Regions from separate parts of the Homo sapiens genome. Here regions 1 and 2 are each linked to region 3. The links are contacts of gene promoters, found by promoter capture Hi-C in blood cells and fetal thymus (Javierre and others, 2016). All regions are on one chromosome and are shown on one strand. The core of a region is centred on a gene start or on the middle of the fragment in contact, and the rest is flanking DNA. Distances in the headings are between cores, read along the strand shown.

Region 1 (2,944 bases), core at 365-2,864, 240 kb before region 3:
GCCAGCCATTTGTATCAAGAAATAGAAATCTGCCAGGGTACAGTGGCTCACACCTATAATCCCAGCGCTTTGGGAGGCTAAGGTAGGCAGATTGCTTGAGCTCAGGAGTTCAAGATTAGCCTGAGCAACATGGTGAAACCTTGTTTCTACAAAAAATTGCAAAAATTAGCCAGGCATGGTGGCATGTGCCTGTAGTCACAGCTACTTGGGACGCTGAAGTAGCAGGATCGCCTGAGCCTGGGAAGTCGAGGCTGCAGTGAGCTATGATTGTGCCACCGCACCCCAGCCTAGGTGACAGAGTGAGGCCCTGTCTCAGGAAAAAAAACAGAAACAAAAACAGAGAAGTCCACTAGAGATCAGCTCTGGGCTCATGATGTCATGATGGCCTGGAACTGACTGAACTAGTTAGTTCTCACAGGTCAGAAGCAGGAACTTTCTCCCAGAGGAAGGTATCTGTCTGTTAAATTGGAAAGGTAGAGGTGGAAAAGAAGGGTTCCCATAGGCCTTTTGGATTGTCATGAATGGTGATGCTGAGAGGGAATAGGACAGGGATGGCAGTGGGGAGGGAAAGGCAGGGACCAGGTTTTGAGCCAAAGCATGCGTAGCTGAGAGCAGTGAGTGGATAGGAGGTGCAGCAGTCTTTGGGTAGCAGCCTACTCAAGAAAAGAATGATAATTACATACTCACAATCTTTAGCCATCAAGCACTTATTTCCTCAACTCCCCCTCCCCCTGGCCTATTGCCAAACCCTAAATCCTGTATCCTATTTACTTCATGCCTGTTGGTTACTAAGTAGTTCCATTTAGAGTACACATTCATTGTTGCCTTGAACTTGCTCTGCTGTTATGGCACCTGAAAACTAGATGTTCTTGGATGGGGGTCTTCCTTCATCAAAGCTTCTTCCCATTTGTACTTCAGTTCTAGGACAAGGCAAGAAGAAAGCAAGAAGCTGTAAATCCCATTCCTCTGGGTCTCAATTTCACCCTCAGTTCAAGGAGCTGAGTAGGCAGAGGCAAAGGCTATACTCAACACACGTGCAATTGAAAGCAGGCGAGGCAAAACCAGGGCAGAGGAAAGGAAAGGGGTGTGTGTGTAGGTATGGATTTATGGGTAGGTGGGTCGGTAGGTTAGTTGAAGAGGAGGTTCTAAGCAGTATAACCTAAGCCTCTTTTCTCTTTCTTCTGCTTCAAACACCTTAAGAACTGCTCAGGGTAGACTGGAGACAAAAGCAACAGCTCAGAAGTGCTAAATCTTGAAGAGCAGCCAAAGCATGGGCAACAAAGTGAGACCCCATCTCTACAAAAAAAAAAAAAAATTAGCCGGGCATGGTGGCCTGTGTCTGTAGTCTCAGCTACTAAAGAGGCTGAAGCAGGAGGAATGCTTGAGCCCAGAAGTTCAAGGCTGCAGTGAGCAACACCTCGTCTGTCTTGTCTCTCTCTCTTTCACAGTGAAAAAGAATGACCCTGGGGAGGGAGTGTAGGAGGGTGAAAGAGTTTCATGTTGTGGATCTTTCTCTTCCCCCACCCACTGTCCACGCACTTTGTCTTTTTCCTCCCCTAGGAGAACTGTCAGAATGAGGAGATCCTGAACAGTCTCAAGTATGTCCGTCCTGGGGGTGGATACCAGCCCACCTTCACCCTTGTCCAAAAATGTGAGGTGAATGGGCAGAACGAGCATCCTGTCTTCGCCTACCTGAAGGACAAGCTCCCCTACCCTTATGATGACCCATTTTCCCTCATGACCGATCCCAAGCTCATCATTTGGAGCCCTGTGCGCCGCTCAGATGTGGCCTGGAACTTTGAGAAGTTCCTCATAGGGCCGGAGGGAGAGCCCTTCCGACGCTACAGCCGCACCTTCCCAACCATCAACATTGAGCCTGACATCAAGCGCCTCCTTAAAGTTGCCATATAGATGTGAACTGCTCAACACACAGATCTCCTACTCCATCCAGTCCTGAGGAGCCTTAGGATGCAGCATGCCTTCAGGAGACACTGCTGGACCTCAGCATTCCCTTGATATCAGTCCCCTTCACTGCAGAGCCTTGCCTTTCCCCTCTGCCTGTTTCCTTTTCCTCTCCCAACCCTCTGGTTGGTGATTCAACTTGGGCTCCAAGACTTGGGTAAGCTCTGGGCCTTCACAGAATGATGGCACCTTCCTAAACCCTCATGGGTGGTGTCTGAGAGGCGTGAAGGGCCTGGAGCCACTCTGCTAGAAGAGACCAATAAAGGGCAGGTGTGGAAACGGCCAGCCTGTGTGTGTGTTCTTTGACAGAGGGCGGAGGGAAGCTACAAACTGCAGGTGGGATAGAGGAGCTGCTAGCACACAAAGCTTTGGGAGGGGAGGATCTGACGGATCAAGGGATGCCCTAATTACTGACAGGAAAGCAAGCGCTGGCCAAGGTCTGCAGTGGCAGGTGCAGTTACGGGAAATGTGAATTATATTATTCCTTTACAGCTCTTCTTCAGAACTGGGGAAAAAGAGAAAGTGATAATGGGAGGTAGAGGAGGAAAAGACAATGAGCCCTTTGGTTGGGGATATTGGGAGGCTGTTAGGAGGATTACAGTCAGGAAGCATCAATAGCACTGTGGGTACTGGGCCAACTAGATCTGACTTGTGCCTTGGGAAATTCCTGGGCAGTCAGCTTAGTTAATGTTTACCAATAGCAAGGGCATAGAGGGTGTAGTTACTGAGAACACAAACAGCACTTTATCTTTTTCCTGATCATCAAACATCTCGGGTGTTTGATCCTTTGCTAGACTGATTCTCCCTCCTTTTTAAAGTTCATGGCCCGGGTGTGGTGGCTCACACCTATAATCCCAGCACTTTGAGAGGCCGAGACAGGCGGATCACTTGAGGTCAGGAGTTCGAGACCAGCCTGGCCAACATGATGAAACTCTGTCTGTACTAAAAATACAAAAAATTAGCCAGGTGTGGTGGCGCACGC
Region 2 (2,702 bases), core at 189-2,688, 190 kb before region 3:
TTCATAGCTTCTCTATGCACTCGCTAACTCCTTAGTTAACCTCTATAGCCATTGATTCCCAAATTGAGTCAAGGAATTTGAGTATGAAAGGTATGATACAAATGGCAAAAAGCAAATAATATACTACTAACAATCATTTAAGTCAGCAACAGGAAGATTCCTCAAGTAGAGAAGTTTAGATCCCGTTTGGACACTCAGATCGCCCATCCCACATAGAGATCCAGATCCCCATACTGGGTGTTGCAACTACGCCACACACTTTTTGACTGATAACAACCACAGTAGTGACCTGTCTTTATGATTTCCCACAAGATTTTTTTTTTCTACCAATTTTCAACTTCAAAACTTATTCACTATTTTGCTTTTTTTTTTTTTTTTGAGCTAGAGTCTCACTCCTTCGCCCAGGCTGGAGTGCAGTGGCACGATCTCGGCTTACTGCAACCTCTGCATCCTGGGTTCAAGTGATTCTCCCACCTCAGCCAGGATTATAGGCACACACCACCACGTATTTTATTTTGTATTTTTAGTAGAGATGTAGAGACAGGGTTTCACCATGTTGGCCAGGCTGGTCTTGAACTCCTGACCTCAAGTGATCTACCACCTTGGCTTCCTGAAGTGCTAGGATTACAGGTGTGAGCCACTGCACCCAGGCCACCATTTTGCATGTAAGAAGCTTATTCTCAGCTGTGTGCAGTGCCTCACACCTGTAGTCCTAGCTGCTTGGGAGGTTGAGATGGCAGGATTCCTTGAGCTCAAGAGTTTGAAACCAGCCTGGGTAACATAACAAGACTCTGTCTCTCAAGAAAAGAAAAGAAAAAAAAAAGCTTATTCTTCTTCTTTTGCTGACTTATCTTGTATGAATTCCCACTTGATAGTTAACCTATCTTATAATTTGTTCTGCATTTTTTGATGTTTATTTGAGTAATAAATATAGTTATCAAGGTTAATTAGGCAACCTTAGGAAACTCAAATAATTAAAGCACAATAGTAAAGAAAACAAAGTTATAAGATCAATCCTGTCATAAAATGGTTAGGGTTTGCTATGGTTTGAATGTGTTCCCCAAAGTTCATGTGTTGGAGACTTAATCCCCAATGCAGCAGTGTTGACAGGTGGTTTTTTTTTTTTTTTTTTTCGAGACAGAGTCTTACTCTGTTGCCCAGGTGGGAGTGCAGTGGTGTGATCTCGGCTTGCTGCAGCCTCGGCCTCCCAGGCTCAGGTGATCCTCCCACCCCAGCCTCCTGAGTAGCTGGGACTACAGGCATGTACAACCATGCCCAGCTAATTTTTAATTTTTTTTTGTAGAGACTGGGTTTTGCCATGTTCTCAAGGCTGGTTTTGAATTCCTGAGCTCAAACAATCCGTCCAGACAGGTGGGATCTTGAGGGAGTTATTAGGTCATGAGGGCTCTGCCCCCATAAATGCATTCATGTTATTATCTTAGGAGGGCATTCATTATCAGGAGAGTGGGTTTGATAAGAACAGCACCTTTTGCCCTCACGTTTGTTCGCTCTCTTGCCCTTCCACCTTTCCACCACGAGATGATGCAGCAAGAAGGCCTTCGCCACATGTTGGTGCCATAATCTTGGACTTCCCAGCCTCCAGAACCATGAGCCAAATAAATTCTGTTTATTATAAATTACCCAATCCATAGTATTCTGTTATAGCAGCATAAAACGAAGTAAGGATTGTTTCTTTCCATAGCCTCAGGTTGGTCTAATGGCCAGTGTGATGACTCGACAGGTCTTCCCATTGCTCATGGGGTGGACTGGTAAGGGGCTGAGCATGAGTCAGGCAACTCCATCTTCCACACTGGCGATGGGATCCCTGAATGAGCAAAACAGATCAGCTGTGCTGGTTTTGATTAGATCCCTGAATGAGCAAAACAGATCAGCTGTGCCGGTTTTGTATAAAAAGAATAGTTTTTTTTTTCTAACCTTTGGGGCACGGTTATTTCATTATCTGAGTTATTGATGAGAATATTCAGACCTTGTTTTCCTTTAGTTCACTGCTGTTTTGTTCTTGTTCTCACCATCCTCTCTATCAAAGCTTGTTCGCAGGTAAGGATCTCATATCTGCTATTTATATTTAACTATATTTTCCCCCACATTGAAAACAACTTTATTATTTATTATAAAATATTCTATGCTTATGAAATACCCAAACCTTATAGCAAAATAGAGAAGGAAGTAAGAATTACTCTAAATCTCACCATCTAGAAATCACTTAGATTTTTTGGAGTATCTTTCCTGATATGAAATGTCTTATTTCTTAATCAAATAGAAATTATTTAGAGCCTACTTAAAAAAAATCAACAGTATGCCATGACATCTTTCCCTATCAGTAAGCATAAAACCACATCACTTAAATGACTACATAGAATTTATGTGTGTGTGTGTGTGTGCATGCGTTCACACCATAATTGGTTTAACCAATCCCATTTTGATGAACATTGAAGTGATTTCCAATTTTTCATTATTATAATGAACATCTACTATGTTCTTAGCATAAGTGTAAAACATAGAAAGCTAAAGCTAAAAGAATCCTTAGAGACTAGCTAGTTCAATGCCATCATTTCGCAGAAGAGAAGCTGAGATATAGAGAGGTTAAGAGGAAGTAGAATCCAGGTATTTTGCCTTTACATCTAGTGATCTTTCTGGTTTACCCTGCTACTATCTTAAAAAAAAAATTCTTGGCTCTTAAA
Region 3 (2,700 bases), core at 95-2,594:
TGGCCCGGAAAACCACACTGCTGAAGGCGAGGTGGCCGATGTGCTCAACGGGGAGGCCCTCCCCCGCTCCGGACTGTCATTGCCCTCCCTGCTTATTATTTCTTGAGCAAGGGCCATGTGACTGGGCTGCGTGCAGAGGCACGGCTGGGGAGACTCTGGGAACCCCCACTCCAGGGTTCCCCGTAAGGTGAACGCAGTGTGGGTCTCCTGCTGGGGCCCCCAGAGCAGGGGACAGGCACCTACATATGCCAACAGATTAGCGAGTGACCTCGAGGATCAAACTCTTTCGCGGCCTCTAACAACACCCTCCCCAAAAGCCACACCTCTCCAGCCTCCAACCATTCCATTCTCCCCTCCGTTCTTCCTTTTGTGTTCCAAAGGCGCCCCGAAGAGTCAAAGTAGCTATTTAACGCCTTAAAAATTTAAGCTTGCACGCCTTATACTGGCTTTCCAAACCAAAGGGCTGGGTGTAGGGGTGCGAAGAACCAAACCGACTTCAGGAGTGGACGAGGTCGAGGCAGCTGGTGGCCGGGCTTTCCGCTCCCCGCTTCTGGCCCCCACTCTCCTCCCTGCCGGACAGGTAGCCGAGATTCCCAACAGCGAGCACCGTGCGGCGCCAACCCGGAACAGGCTGCAGGCGCCTCCGGGGCTGGCAGGAGCCGAGGCTCGGGTCCTCGCGCAGAAGGGTCCACCCGCCAGGCCCACAGCTCCAGCCAAACACCAGCCCTCGGGCGCGCGCGGCCTCGCGGGCTTCCTGGATTTCAAACTGAGCCTCTCTGGAGCCGCCCGGCGCATTTGCCCCTTTTGTTTCCGGAGTGGAGGGAAAAAAAGACAGAAAAAGTCTCCCCATACGACCCTCCTGCGCTCGCGCACTCTGCGGCAGGGTGGCCCGGGAAGCAGCCAACACAGTTCCAGGCCCTCCTCGGTCGCCCCGGTCCTCACCCCGCAGGGGGCTGGCACGGGGGCCGCGAAGGGACTGGGGCCCCAGCGTGACTGCCGGCACCGCCGCTCAGCCTAATGCAGGGAGATAAGAGGGGAGAGAGGAGAATCAGGGGACACTCACCGAGCGGTAGCTGCCCCGCGGGCTCGGGACGCGCACGGCGTGCGGGGCTGCCCAGGTGCTGCCGCGACGCGGGCGCGAGTTTGAAAGTCGCTCTCTGAAGGGGCTGAGGCCGCCGACCGCTCCCGCCCACCGCCAGCCCCTCAGCTGGCCCGGACTCGGCCAGCTGCAAGCGCGGCCCCCGGAGACCCCAGGCAGCGCGCGGCTTGCCAGCGCCCGGCAGGAAGTCGAGCGGAGCCGGAGCTGCAGCGGGAGGGCAGGAGGGAGCGAGGGAGCGAGGGAGCGAGGGAGCGAGGGAGCGAGGGAGCGAGGGAGCGAGGGAGGGGCGGGCCAGGAATTTTTCCTGTGGGTGGAGACTCCAGCTCGCGGCTGCAGTCCAGCAATTGGCGGCTCTGCGGGGGCCGGGGCAACCTTCGCGGCGCGGCGAGCCAGAGCCGGGGTAAGGCTGCGGCGGCGGCGAGGCCTGGGCGCGGTTAACGATTAACGCCCGCAGGGTGATGAGCGCGCACCCCCGGGCAGCCTAGATGCTCTAGGATACCAAGACGCACGTGGTGGGGTCACCCTGGTGTCACAGACCTGCTATCACCGCCTCCCGAGACAGCATGGACTGCCAGAACGTACCCCTTGTATGGACAGGGAACACCGGGCCCTGCGAAGGGGGCTGAGGGCTTTCCCAAGTGAGTGACCAGCCGGGATCGATCTGGGGATCCTAATCCTACCAGAGCCGGCCGTGTCCGCTTTTCCAAGTCAGAAAGGCATGTCTTGAATTCCTCACCATAACTCGGTCCCTGTGACGCTTTACAGTGGTAAATGCAGACCTCTGAGAAGCTGACGGGAAAGAGATAAAGGAGACAACGTGAAGGCAACTCCACAAGGAACTGTTAAATAGGAAAAATAAAACACAGAAACCTGGATGATAGAGGACCCGTTTTTATAAAACAAAGAGAACCGTTTGTCTTTATGTCTCTGTATATGACCGTGTATGCATGGAAAGGTACACACCTGGAAACTGGGGGGCAAGGGGTGAGGATGGGGGACAGAGACATTCAATACATTTTGAGCAAGAGCATAAATCCAAAAACCCATAATAATTCATCAGTAAAGATCCTGAAGAACAACAAGCCCGGAGGAGGGAAGCCCAGAGTGGGGCTCCGGAAGAGGAACAACGCCCACTGGTTAGGCGCTATCACTAGTTCCTTGGGAGGAGGAATAGGACGCTGATATTAGAACCACGGGGTATATTTGTTATCCAGGTGTACAGCAAACGATTTCTAGAGGTATCATTTAAAACAAAACAAGCGCCCGCCCCAAAATGCTGCTCTGGGCAAATGCAAGCTCCAGGTGATCTACTGGGAGGGGAGAGGCGGGGCAGGCGCGGAAGGAAATGGCTTTCAGGTGACTTTGAAACTGGATCCTGGCGGAGGGTGGGGTGAAGGCAGCGTCCCGGCTCCTGCCTGCGGAGGAAGCGGTAGGCGCTCGGTCTGGCAGGCCCAGAAAGCGGGGCCCACATTCCTTAGGGAGGGAGGGTGTGTTGGAGGCTTGCAGAGCCCCAGACTCGCGGACCGTGAAGGTGAGAGCAGAGATTGCAGAAGAGGGGCTCGGAAATAGATCAACTTAGTTGGGGCTCCGCTAGACCCCGC

Evidence for each region. Contacts are between HindIII fragments. The CHiCAGO score rates a contact against its expected background, and 5 or more counts as called.
Region 1: a contact is called between a fragment that was not itself captured here and the fragment with the promoter of PLEKHG3 in region 3, in 1 of 17 cell types (erythroblasts). The highest score is 5.1, in erythroblasts.
Region 2: a fragment that was not itself captured here is called in contact with the fragment with the promoter of PLEKHG3 in region 3 in 1 of 17 cell types (endothelial precursors); the score reaches 6.8 in endothelial precursors.

Annotation. Positions count from the first base shown.
Region 1 is chr14:64,938,455-64,941,398 of GRCh38, reverse strand. The region is part of intron 3 of CHURC1-FNTB (CHURC1-FNTB readthrough); the gene reads right to left. It overlaps GPX2 (glutathione peroxidase 2), which reads left to right. Exons shown (of 2, transcript NM_002083.4): 2 at 1,561-2,241. The coding sequence ends at 1,911. Among named protein-coding and RNA genes, the nearest start is that of GPX2, 2.8 kb to the left of the region's middle. The HindIII fragment of the contact is 1,432 bases long and covers 899-2,330 here.
Region 2 is chr14:64,888,425-64,891,126 of GRCh38, reverse strand. The region is part of intron 1 of LOC105370534 (a long non-coding RNA gene); the gene reads left to right. Among named protein-coding and RNA genes, the nearest start is that of SPTB, 9.9 kb to the right of the region's middle. The HindIII fragment of the contact is 1,223 bases long and covers 827-2,049 here.
Region 3 is chr14:64,703,068-64,705,767 of GRCh38, reverse strand. PLEKHG3 (pleckstrin homology and RhoGEF domain containing G3) reads right to left here and starts at 1,344. Exons shown (of 17, transcript NM_001308147.2): 1 at 1,064-1,344. RefSeq lists an enhancer at 2,564-2,700. The HindIII fragment of the contact is 3,721 bases long and covers 430-2,700 here.